Regions from separate parts of the Homo sapiens genome. Here regions 1 and 3 are each linked to region 2. Evidence: promoter capture Hi-C in 16 types of primary human blood cells and fetal thymus (Javierre and others, 2016). All regions are on one chromosome and are shown on one strand. Each heading gives the region's core, a stretch centred on a gene start or on the middle of the fragment in contact. The rest is flanking DNA. Distances are from core to core; before and after follow the strand shown.

What was found. Contacts are between HindIII fragments. The CHiCAGO score rates a contact against its expected background, and 5 or more counts as called.
Region 1: the fragment with the promoter of DNAI7 here is called in contact with the fragment with the promoter of BHLHE41 in region 2 in 4 of 17 cell types (total CD8 T cells, naive CD4 T cells, fetal thymus and 1 more); the score reaches 6.4 in total CD8 T cells.
Region 3: a contact is called between the fragment with the promoter of FGFR1OP2 here and the fragment with the promoter of BHLHE41 in region 2, in 5 of 17 cell types (fetal thymus, monocytes, total CD4 T cells and 2 more). The highest score is 7.2, in fetal thymus.

Annotation. Positions count from the first base shown.
Region 1 is chr12:25,192,582-25,196,660 of GRCh38, forward strand. It overlaps DNAI7 (dynein axonemal intermediate chain 7), which reads right to left and starts at 2,579. Exons shown (of 16, transcript NM_018272.5): 1 at 2,495-2,579. The coding sequence starts at 2,497. It overlaps ETFRF1 (electron transfer flavoprotein regulatory factor 1), which reads left to right and starts at 2,656. Exons shown (of 3, transcript NM_001001660.3): 1 at 2,656-2,756. RefSeq lists an enhancer at 2,897-3,016. The HindIII fragment of the contact is 2,518 bases long and covers 2,223-4,079 here.
Region 2 is chr12:26,122,044-26,126,348 of GRCh38, forward strand. BHLHE41 (basic helix-loop-helix family member e41) reads right to left here and starts at 2,994. Exons shown (of 5, transcript NM_030762.3): 1 at 2,675-2,994; 2 at 2,476-2,539; 3 at 2,029-2,136; 4 at 1,587-1,698; 5 at 1-1,125. The coding sequence starts at 2,736. The coding sequence ends at 23. It also overlaps a transcript of SSPN not described here. The HindIII fragment of the contact is 3,679 bases long and covers 1,639-4,305 here.
Region 3 is chr12:26,936,242-26,940,141 of GRCh38, forward strand. FGFR1OP2 (FGFR1 oncogene partner 2) reads left to right here and starts at 2,229. Exons shown (of 7, transcript NM_015633.3): 1 at 2,229-2,469. INTS13 (integrator complex subunit 13) reads right to left here and starts at 1,740. Exons shown (of 17, transcript NM_018164.3): 1 at 1,555-1,740; 2 at 338-573. The coding sequence starts at 562. RefSeq lists enhancers at 2,045-2,554, 2,283-2,332, 2,555-3,063 and a silencer at 2,593-2,662. The HindIII fragment of the contact is 20,390 bases long and covers 1-3,900 here.

The DNA.
Region 1 (4,079 bases), core at 1,329-3,828, 930 kb before region 2:
TTTGGGAGGCCGAGGCAGGGGGATCACCTGAGGTCAAGACCAGCCTGGCCAACATGGTGACACCTCGTTTCTACTAAAAATACAAAAATTAGCTGGGCGTGGTGGCATGCACCTGTAATCCCAGCTACTCGGGAGGCTGAGGCAGGAGAATCGCTTGAAGGAGAATCGCTTGAACCCGGGAGGCAGAGGTTTCAGTAAGCCGAGATCGCGCCATTGCATTCCAGCCTGGGCAACAGAGCGAAACTCTGCCTCAAAAAAAAAAAAAAAAAAAAAAATCATATGTTGGCTGGGTGCACTGGCTTACTCCTGTAATCCCAGCATTTTGGGAGGTCAAAGTGGGAGAATCACTTGAGCCCAGGAGTTTGAGGGCAGCCTGGGCAACAAAGCAAGACCCTGTCTAAAAAAATTTAAAAATTAGCTGGGTGTGGTGGCACGTGCCTTGTACTCCCAGCTATTCAGGAGGCTGAGTTGGGAAGATTGCTTGAACCAGGGAGGCTGAGACTTCGATAAGCCATGATGGTGACACTGCATTGCAGCCTAGGTGACAAAGCGAGACAGTCTCAAAAAGAAAAAAAAAAAAGAAAAAAAATTCATACGTTGAAATTCTGATCCCCAGTACTTCAGAATTTGATCTAATTGGAGACAGGGTCACTGCTGATTTTATTAGTTAAATTAAGATGAAGCCATACTGAATAGGGTGGGCCCCTAATCCAATATGATTTGTGTCCTTATATAATAATAATTTTAATATACTCAGATGGAGAATGCCATGTGAAGAATGAAGTTTTGTTGCCACAAACCAAGAAACTACTAGAAGCCAGGAAAGGTCTGAACAGATCTCTCCCTAAGGCCCTCAGAGGTATCACAGACCTGCTGACACTTTGATCTTGGACTTCTAGTCTCCAGAACTACGAGACAATAAATTTCTTTTCTTTAACCACTCAGTTTGTGGCAATTCCTTACTTGGCAGACTTAGGAAACTAATACAGTAGATTTGGAGTTGAGTGGGTTCCTGGAATCTGCATTTTTAACAAGTACTCCGGGTGCATTAGAAATAAATGTTCCATGGGCCACACTTTGAGAAACATTGGGAGAAGGATCTAAGAAGAAGAAGAAACTCAGGTAACAAATTGGAAGGTAACAAGTAAGTGCTTACTGTTCCCCCAATTTATTAGCAATTATAAATTGACTTAAGGTCCATTTGCATTCCGCCAGGAATGCTCTCCACTCCCTATTTCTTTTTTTCTCTTTTTTTTTTGAGACGGAGTCTCGCTCTGTCACCCAGGCTGGAGTGCAGTGGCACAATCTCGGCTCACTGCAACCTCCGCCTCCCAGGTTCAAGCGATTCTCTTGCTTCAGCCCCCTGAGTAGCTGGAATTACAGGTGCGCGCCAACACGCCCGGCTAATTTTTGTATTTTTAGTAGAGACTGGGTTTCACCATGTTGACCAGGCTGGTCTCGAACTCCTGACATCGTGATCTGCCCGCCTCGGCCTCCCAAAGTGCTGGGATTACAGGGGTGAGCCACCGCGCCAGGCCTCCACTCCCTATTTCTTCCCACCATATGTGGAAAACTCGTATTTATACTTTAAAACAGGTTGAAAAGCACCACTCTCCTTCCCTTGTTTCCCCTCACTGAAATTTCATCATTTCCAACTGTGTGTTACCCCATTTTAGATGCTTCAATTGTTACAGTTGTAAAGCTGTATTGTAATTAATTTGTTTAATCTGTATCCTATAAGCAGAGTTGTCGTCATGTTCTTCTTGGTATTCTTGGCTTCTAGCCCAGTGCCAAGTACAAAGAATGCACTCCACATTTTTCCCTTAATTAATGAATTAAATAAGTAATTACATTCTCCACTTCCTCTGGTTTTAATTATAGAAAATGTCTTGATGGAAACCACATTTAAGAAAATCAGAGATACTCTCATAGCTACATGTTGGCCTGTCTCCTTGCTGAAAACATGGCAGTTGAGGAGTGCAGAAAAACAAAATGAGAAGCCTTATCATATTTAACTAATGCAGGATGAGAACCTTGAATCACAAAACAATTCATATTCCCACAAAAGACGACATAAAATATTTTTTCAAAGCAGAGTAAATTGCATTAGCTTTTAATTAACTGCTGGAGAAGTACTAAAACATTTCCGCCAAGTTGCAATAAGAAAATTTAGTGGGAACGTCTATCACTACTGAAAGTTACTAGGTTGGGACCAATTTTCAAGCTTAGCAACATTCGAGATCAGGATACCGTGTGACAGCTTTGACCATCTCCCGTTTGCAGAAACTGGTTTGGGACTCCTACCTGTCCGCCTGGTCCAGGTAAGGAAAGCCATTGCTGAGAAGAGGGCCGACCCACCCCAAGGTATGAGTTATTTCCCAAACCGACCCGCTTCGCTGTAAAATATGACTGGCTCTTGATTACATTATTTAACACTGGTGAAGCAGAATCAGTGGTCGCCCCTCCACCTGTCTGCCTCATTTGCCTTGCTCACCATTAAGAGTCAAGCTCCACTGCAGTAGTCCGCAGAGTCGGAGCAGAAATTGTGTGGACAAACGCTCCCGGGTTGCCCGGACGACAGGCCCCGCCCACTTGAGCTCCAGGAAAAGAGCGCAGCCGCGCGGAGGCTCTTCCGGCCGGCGCCCCGCCCCCTTTACTGACAGGTTGCCCACCTCCCCCAACGCCACCCCGCTTCGCAGTAGACGGACAGAGGAGTCGTAGCGGTCGAGGCTTTTGCGGCTCCGGCGTGCCGGAAAGTGCGTGAGTGCCGCCGCCGGGGAGTTTTGTTCCATTTCCCGGATCCTGGGGTCTGGAGGCGAAATATGCTCTGGGCGAGGACCACCGGGTGTGGGAAGAGGGTTCTGAGCGTCTCCTGACGTTGACGGTTTATTTCCTAGAGTGTGTTGGGTCTTTCTGTGAGGGTTTCGAGAAGGAAACAGGCATGCGACTGGTTCATGCAGCGGACACCCGGTGGGAGGCCTGGGCCTCTGCGGTTTAATCCAGCAGGGGGATGGGGCTCATTCCGCAATTTAAAGAGAGAAATAAGTTGGCTCCAGAGGGTTGGTTATTTTAAGATTAATGACCTTCGGATTCTTCTTTCTGCTCTATTGTTTACTTTCTGTGCAGCGTACGCGTCCTTTTTCCTAAGAGCGCCCTAAACAAGAATTGAAAATGAAGCAATTCCTGGCTAAAATATTCCTTAACATGAAGATCGCTGAGGCCCCAAAGACTCATTAGTTTCCCGAGGTCACAGACTAATTTTACTAACCACACAACCTTTAGAATTTCAGTCTCCTCCCACATGAAGAAACGCCGGCACCTTACACCGACAGGAAAACTACAATTAAGTGAGGCTGTTCTCCTCAAGCCCGACTGAGTTCTCTGTAATTGTAGGGCATACCTACACCCTGTTTTAGCATTATGAGACCTGAAATACTTTTAAATTACTGGCACCATTTCTCATCTCTGAATTATAAGTTTATAATGCTCTATCCCTTCCAGTGTTATTGACTACATGCATTATTCATAGATAAGTAGTAGGACTAAGCTAGTCTTTGTGGGTTAAAGTGTTATTATCCCTATTGTAACCTGTAACTATTATAGGTTGTGTAATAGTTATTAGCATTTTACATCCATATCCTGGTAGCAAGATAAAAACATTTTAATAGCGACTTCGTACAGAGTTCTTACTCAGTTTACCATAGCTGTTTGATATGAAAGTTAAGGCTTCCTTTTAAATTAGTTTCAGTAAAACTAATGTTTAATGATAAAACACCTCAGTCAACTCAAGTTAGGATTCATCGGGGTAAGGAGATAGTTCAGTAATCCCAAGTTACCTTAAAATAGTGGGCTTTTAGAGGAAAGGCTTTACTGAAGCTCTCACTGTATCTACCCCATGGGGAACAATGATTAACAACTTTGGCCACCACATAACCCCCAGTAAAATGACAATTTTCCATTAGCCTGGAACTGGAACTGGTTAAGTCCTAACTCCTTAGCCTAGAATGACAGGGGGAAAAAACTATCAATGGGGACTGCAACCGCTGTCTCATCCAGCGCACACATCCAAGTTTTCAGAA
Region 2 (4,305 bases), core at 1,744-4,243:
CCGTCCTTCGGGACGCAAGGATTCAGGGAGCTTCCTTTCCTGGCTGCGAGGGATCTTCCTGAGCAGAGCTCTCCGGGTTCCCCGGCTCGCGGGGCCCGGCGAAGGGCAGGTGGGTGCGGCCGTGCGGGTGCTGGGGGTGCGGCGCCCCAAGGGGCGCCACCTCGTGCGGCAGGAGGGTCGCGGCGGCGGCGCCCGCCTTCTCGGGAGGGGGCGACAACACCGAGGACAGGCAGGGGAACGCGGCGGCGGCGGCGGCAGCGGCGGCGGCGGCTGCCGCGGCTGCCGCCGGGGCGGGGATGCCGGGGTATAGCAGCGGGAACGGGGCGGCAGCCGCCGCCGGGTACAGATACTTCTCCAGGCCGCTCTTGTCCAGGAAGGGCTGCACGTAGGCGGCAGCTGCAGAAGGCGAGAGGAAGCAGAAGGGCAGGCAGAAGGGGGCCGCGGCGGCCGCGGGCTGCGGGAAGGGCGCGCCTCCGCCTCCGCCGAACGCCACCAGCGAGCTGAGCAGGGCGGCGTCGGGTCTCAGCAGCGCGGCCGCGGCGGCAGGGTCGGGCCCCAGAAGCGCGGCTGCCGCCGCCGCCGCGCCGCCCCCCGGGCCGCCGCCGCTGCCGCCGCCGCGGGAATCCAGCTTCATCCTCTTGGGCGCCGGCGAGTCCTCCCCGGGAGGCTCCTGCTTGATGGTGACGCGGCTCGCCCCCGCGCCTTTGCCTTTCTCGCGGTCCGGCCGGGCCTCGGCTTCGCCGCCGTAGCCGCTGTCGGTGTCCGTGTCGTTCTCGGCGGCGAGCTCGGCGCTGGGCTGAGTCCGCTGGATGACGGGCACGCAGTAGGCGAGGGGCTCCAGCTTCTGCCCCGCGCGCTCCAGGCAGGGGGCGGCCGCGGACCCGGCGGCCGAGGGAGCGCCGGTGCCTTTGCTCAGAGGGACCTGTTGAGTCAACAGCTGCGGGGTGGGCAAGAACTGGGTGGCCACGGCGTGCAAGTGGTTGATCAGCTGGACACACCGCGGCTCCCTGGGTGTCCAGCTCTCAAACCGGGAGAGGTATTGCAAGACTTCTTTGGCGCATGTTTGAAATCCCGAGTGGAACGCATCCAAGTCGGACTGAATGGGCGATTTCAGAGATCGCTCCCCTAGGATGAGGAAGGGATGGGGGTGGGGGACGGAGGAGTGGAGGCAAGAAGAAACATACCCACGTTAAAACATCTGCTTATCACGTGGGCCCTGCATCGACTAAAGTGATCTCGGTTTTTCCCCAGTATTCAAGTGATATAATCCACCAGTTGACGAGAGAAGCGGGGTGGCGGAGGTGCGGAGCGGGGAGAGGGCGCTCTCCTCCCAGCTGAAAACCAAAGTGGAGCGGGTGCAACCGCCACTTTAAATCCTGATTCCTCCGAGTTCTGCTGAAAGCCTCTAGGATGCTTCGGGAAATGGGCTCGTTCCAATGAAGGGAAAGTATAAGCAATTTAACAAATGAGAGGGAACCCATGAGCCCACGGAAAGAGATGGGGTGCGGGTGAGGGAGTCCTGACACTGCTCCCCTGTGGGCTGCCCCGCTTCATCAGGGTAGGCTGGCCTCCCTGAACTGACTTACCATTCTGTAAAGCAATTATCTTCTGATGCTGTTGCTCGGTTAAGGCGGTTAAAGCTTTTAAGTGTTTCAAAGTTAATTCCAAGACTACAGCTTTCTCCAGATGTCCCAGAGTCTGCAGTGGTGCAAAAAAGAAACGGGCACTTGGTTACTTAAAAACACACATTTGGCTTAATTGGCTGTCCATTCAGCACAGCAATTTAAGCAAACACTTTGAAAGAAGTACTGTTCTTTTACTTCTTGAGCTTTCCACAAGACAGGTTATAAATGATTTCTTGCCTTCAGCTGGGAGCACCTACTCCAGTTTGCGGGAAACTCTGTACGGTATAGCACAAGTTTTAAGTCAGGAACTTATATTTACATTTATTCTTATATTTTCTGGGAGTCGCACCAGACTATTAACACGCCCTTGGAGAGCAGCAAAGAATGAAAATGTGCATCTTACTGTCAATTTCAGATGTTCAGGCAGTAAATCTTTCAGCTGAGCAATGCATTCATTAATTCGGTCTCTTCTTTTCTTTTCTATTAATCTGTGCGGTAATTTGTAGGTATCCTTAATATATGAGAGTCATGGAAAAGAGAAAACAGTAAGCGAAACATTCACTTATTGGATATTACCCTCGTCTGCCCCCCCCGCCCCCCCACCATAAAACATACTATGTGATAAACTACACCCAAGAAACCTCTTTCCTCTGGACTGTTCTGCAATGCAATTTAAATTCAGGTATGATGTTTAATATCCCCCTGAGAGTACCCAGCAAGCCACTTAAAATTCACAGTTGGGGAAGCTCAGGGGCTGGAATATATTTGCGGGCAGAGCTTCACTGTGAAATCAATGGCTCTAATTAACTACCCATGCAGGTTATGAGGAATATCGGGAACTTACACTTACCTTGGTGTCGTCTCGTTTCATGCTCCTTTTGGGTTTACACATATACAAAGAGGAATAGTCCAGTCTGCAAAACAGAAATCAGCATCAGGCACCCATTCGGGGAGGGGCTCTGCCCTCGCCAGCTCCATACCACTTTCTGGAGAAGAAAAAAATCAAACCAAAGCCTAGACAGATATTCGCAAGGGTGCGTGCACCTTACCCTATAAAATCTCTATGTTCCAGTAACTGTCTCTCTTGCAAATGAGGAATTCCTTCGTCCATGTTCAACTGCTGTTCGTTTCCTCTGTTTCGATTTTTGGGGCTCTGTACAATAATCTGTGGGACGGTAGGCTTGGGAGACCTTGGGGGGATCTGTGCGTCTCCAGTCTCTCTCTCGCTCTCCCTCTTCAGTGCAGTGTTGAAAGTGTGAAGCAGTTGGTCCCCCCCCTCCACCGCGCTCGCACACACACACGCACACACACGCACACTCGCGCCGGCCCCACTGCGCTGGTAGTTTGCTCTCACTCCAGGCAGTGTTTGGCCACAGGGCACGCGCGTCGCCGGCCAGACCAGCACCCAGCTCACGTGCGGAACGTACCATCCGCGGTCCAGCCCGGAGGGGGGCGGGGGAGGAGGGGCCGGGCCGGGCGGGGGCGTCGGGAGAAGGCGGCGAGAGAAGGCGAACGGCAGGAGGGGGCGGGGACACCTGATCAGGGCCACCGGAAAGGAAAAACAACTTCGGCCAAGCTATTCATCTTCCCAAAGGCGATGCAGTCGGCAGGAGGAGGGGGGAGTGGGGGTGCAGGGGTGCGGGGCAGCCTGAGCTTCCTTGGCTCCAAAATGCGACTCCCTGGGTTCGTCCGTTGTTACGGTGCAGGAATGTGAACGTGGCTTTTTGCTTTTCCACCGATTGTGCTGTTGGTTTGAACCATAGAAAGGAAGTGAAAAGAGAATTCGCGGTGGGTAAACTTGAGTCCCAAAGGAAATTTTGGAGACTTGTTTGCTCACTGATCAGTGGCCTGGAGGGACTCCTTGGCGCTGGGTGGAGAGGTTGCCTCGAGAAGAAGCAACTTGCAATCCGCTCCTTGAAGGATTTAAGATACATGAAAACGTTGTCACTGGGTCCGAATGTCGCAATCCAAGTGTCTTTCGGTGACACGGCGTCCCTGGGCCAACTAAACTTCCCCGCAGCAGCCGGAATTGCGGTGCCACTAATCACAGCAGCAGATGACGACGTTTGGGGCCGCGTGTGCTCCTGGAGGAACGCGGCGGGGAGCGAGCCGGGGTTGAGTGGGGGCTGGGAAGGGAGAAGGGGGTGGCACGAGAGGGGGTGGCACGAGAGGGGCTACCACAGAAAAGCTATGCAGCATTTATCACCCGCCCGCTCAACTCTGCCGCGTTCTGAGCCTCCGGTGACGCTACGTGCTTTCCCCATCCCCCCGCCCCCCCGCGCGATAAGAGACGCCCGGAGTGTGCAGAGCCCACGTTTACTACCGCTGGCACCTCCAAAGCCTCCCTCCTTAATCCGGTCTCAAACGGGTACCAGCACAGGGCCAGCAACGTGATCCGACCTGCCGCTGCTGCCACATCACTGCTCGGGGAACCCGTGCGCGCGCGCGCTCGCCCTGCAGCCGCGGCGCTCGGCGCCGGGAATCACAGGCCAGCAAGAGCCGGGTTACCTTTCCCCAGAGCCACCCTGGGAGCATGACTCACTGCTAGTGAGAGTTACCGGGAGGTGCCCGGGGATGCGCACTGCCCACGCCGCCCTGCCAGCCCAGGGGAAGGCATGTCCTGAGGGACTCCCAGGGGTGGGATGGAGGCTATATATATATTTCTCTAGATATACATAAA
Region 3 (3,900 bases), core at 979-3,478, 810 kb after region 2:
AGTCTGTGTTCTATACTGGTTGTTACATACTTTGAATATTGCTTCAATAACTACAGTTCCTACCTAACATGACTGTTATGAGAATTACGGAAATTAATAAATATGAAGCACTTTGAAATATGTCTGGCACATGTAAAGTGCTCAATAATTGTTAGCTGTTATTATTACTGGCCCCAATTAAATATCCATTATATATTAATCCCAAAGGGCAGCGTTATGTACCACATTTTTAAGTAATAAACACACAGTCATTATCTATAGCAAATTCATATAAAAATTCATTTATGCAGTTAAGTACATCCCCAAAATCATGATTTTGTTTGTACTTCACACTCACCAGCTTTTTGAAAGGAAATATATCATACATTATTCTACAATATTCCATGGAAGATTCTACTGAGCAAGTCCACAATGATTTAGATATGGGGGCCAAAGGAATGATTCCTTGGGTTCTATTCTTCACCAGCATATCAAACTCGACATGCTGCCTGCAAGATTCTGCCATATAAGGGCAGTGATCCACAACAAACACTGTTTTATGAGATTCAGAAAAAATCTTCATTTTGTTTTAACCTGTAAGGGGAAAAACATATTAGCCAAATATTTGTACATAACATCTTACATTTTTTCTAATTTTCTCAAGAAGATTGTCTTTCCCTCAAGAAGACTTGGTAGGGAACATGAATAATATGTTCAAAGAAATCTGTCCGACAAAGGACAGTTTAATGAGGTCATGACCAGAAAGCAAGGGTATCAATACACCATATTAGGCTGTCACTCTACCAGGCCCAGACAAAAATACCAGTGCATGCATTTTTGGTTTTGCTTTTAAAATGAACTTAAAATTGTCAGAGGGAAACATTTTGACATTTAATTGTATTTGATTCCCTTACATATACGAAACATAAGTGACAAAGACTCTTGAAATACAACTTTATGATCCTTGCTAATTGACATTAGTCACATATAAACCCCAAGCCAGCATTTTTGCACTTCCCTCCAAGAAAAACGTTTGAAGGGGGACTGGCGGGTAGGGGTGCGGAATTAACAGGAAAGAGGAGTGACAGCAAAAGAAAAGGCCAAAACAAAGATAAACATCTCCTAAGATAACCGCACATCAGGTCTTCGCCTTAGGATAAGGACCCCAACTTCACACTCTCCCCTTAGCTTTTGAAACATCACAGTAATTTACCAGGTAGAGCAGAAAAACTTAGTTGTTACCATCACACTGGTGTGTAGAAGGAAATTTAAAACTTTTAAAACTTTTTCTTATTAAAACAGAGCATACGGTACTCCCCTGCTTCGCTAACAAAATCTTATACTGAATAGACAATCCACATTCGAAAAGCACATGGCAAGCAAAGCCAAAGTGTTAAATCAAAACGAACTGATTTCTTACGATCCAGCTATTTTCACCTCTTGCTTTCAAGACGCATCTCCCCTTCATGCAAAACTCTCTTTGAGAAACCTTCTAGACCCACTTTGCTGGAGGGTGGGGGGTGGAAAATACAAGGTGAGTGGATAGGGAAGACCTCAGGATCGAGGTTCGCTTACTTTCGTGCCTGGTCCTGCAGTGAAAACGAACAGAGGCTATGGACCACAGCCTCTCTGGAAAAGGCTGCTGGCTGGGCGGGGAGAGTCAGCGCACAGTCGGGAGTGTCTGGTGCCACAGACAGGGGACTATGCTTTCCCCGATCATCTCCTAGCACACCGGTCCTTCCCAGGCTTCCTAAGAGCAGGAGCGCGCGTGCGCGTGCACACACACACACGCACTCGGGCTCGCGCGTGCGCACAGCGCTCTCCGATAGCCCGGCCAAGCCTCCCTTCCCCCTCGTAGGGCCAGGCGTCCCAGTCGCCGAACAGGAAGAGGGCGGGGCCAAGGAGGAAAAAAAAAGCCTCCACCCCTCGAGATTTTCCACCCGCTAATTTTCCCAGTCACCCATTGGGAAGCAGGATCTGGGCGACCTGAAAGCCTCCCCAACAGCGAAGTACCAACCACGGCCCCCTAAGCGTACGACCCACCCACCCGGTCTCCCCTTCTCTGTCTCTCCACCCAGGCCGGTTTCCCCTGGAAAAACTCGCGAGACTTTGCGAGAGGCCGAGCGAAAGCCTGGGAAGGGAGGAATAGGGAGGGACATAGAAGGGCCCCGCCCTGCCTTCTGGGGCAAAGCGGAGAGTGGTCGGTTCTGCCCCACAGTAACGCGAGGAAAGAAATCTCGCGAGGCTGGAGTTCTCCGGGAGCGCCGGTCGGAGGCGGTCGGCGGAGGTGTCTACCCCGCCGGTGATGGCGTTGAACGCCACTGGCTTCCCGGCCTTCCGTCCGCTGCCTCCGTCCGATTCTGCGTCTGCTTGCTGAGGAGGCGGATTAGGGGGGCGCGGAGTCTCTTCCCTTGAGTGCATAGGTCCCGGTTGGTAGAGGGTTTGAGTCCGCATCGCCACAGCTGAAGGCTGCGAGGGACTAAGAGCAGAGTAAGTGGACTAAATCCAGGGACGGGAGCAGGGGTGGGCGAGTCGGAGGCGTCCTTTGCCGGGGCAGTCCTTCGCCGGGGCCGGTGCCTTGCGCCTCTTGAACCACCGGCGCCCGGCCCTGTCCGCTTCCCGCCGCGGGCTCCCTGCTCCTGGGAGCCGGACTTCCTCTCCGCGCCCCCCGACTCCGAGCTCCTCTTAATGGAGATGCGGTGCGGAAAGTTCAATGAAAAGCCTTGGCTCTAACCCTGTGGACACACCTTCCGTATCTGCTTTCATCCTGCCTTACCCACCTGCGAGTTCACCACCGGACGGGGGACCCTTTCAGTCACCTGTTTGCAGCGTTTAATGAAGATAACTTGTTTCTTGAAACTGCTCTCCAAGGGGTATTACTCTTTTCTGGTTCTCTTCCTGCCTTTCTTCTCTATCCCATCTCTGATAATGGTTCCAGTATCTGTCCTGCTATCCGAACTAGAAAACCAGGAATCATCATTGGTTCTTCATTTCCACTTAACACTGCACTGTATTATTTTTTTTTTCGCCAGAATTAGTGCGGTTGCCCCCTCTGCCCCCCGCCCTCCACTGGTTTCCCTACTATAATCCTTCCATAGAGTTATTCTGAAATACATATTTATCTCTGTCCTTTCCTTAAACTTTTTAGTAACCGTATTGCTGACAGCATCAAATCCTAATTGTTAAGCACATCATCATTCAGGATCTTTTACAGTCTGCCCCAATCCATTTTACCTTTTAGTCCTGCTTTAATATCCTACCATACAAGACTATACTGGCTATTTCCCCAAACATGCCATGCGCTTTGACAGCTCTGTACTTTTGTACGTGCGGATGTCTAGGATGTTTACTGTTCCTCTATTTTACCACCTGTCAAAACCCAATTCATAAATCATTGTCTTCTCAGACTCCCCCAGGTGACATTGATACCGCTGTGCTCCCAACGCATTTGAAACTTTTCTTCTGCAGTATTTATTAGGTTGTATTATTTGTTTCTGTCTCTCCTGCCAATTTGAACCTGGGTCTGTCTGGAATCATGTCTTACTCATCTCTGAGAAAAAGTCCAGTACTTGGCACATAGCAAGCATTATTTATATATACATATGTATGTTTATTGAAATGGAATAGTTCTAAGGAATTCACCGTAAGAGTTCTTCATCCTTTAAAATCATAGAATTTTGGGCCAGAAGGAACTCTGTACATTAGCTTAAAGGTCCCGACCTATTTTGATTATGAGAAACCCTGTACTTCTAATACACATGCAATTGGACTTTTAGTAATTGTTGGTTGAAATTATGTATAATGACAGAAAACTACTATGCTTTTAAATGATTTTGTATTTTATTTTTACAGTATCTATTTATATTTGAGAAATGGAGCAGAAATGTTTTAGACTACAGACAGTGCTTGGAGTATGTGCAT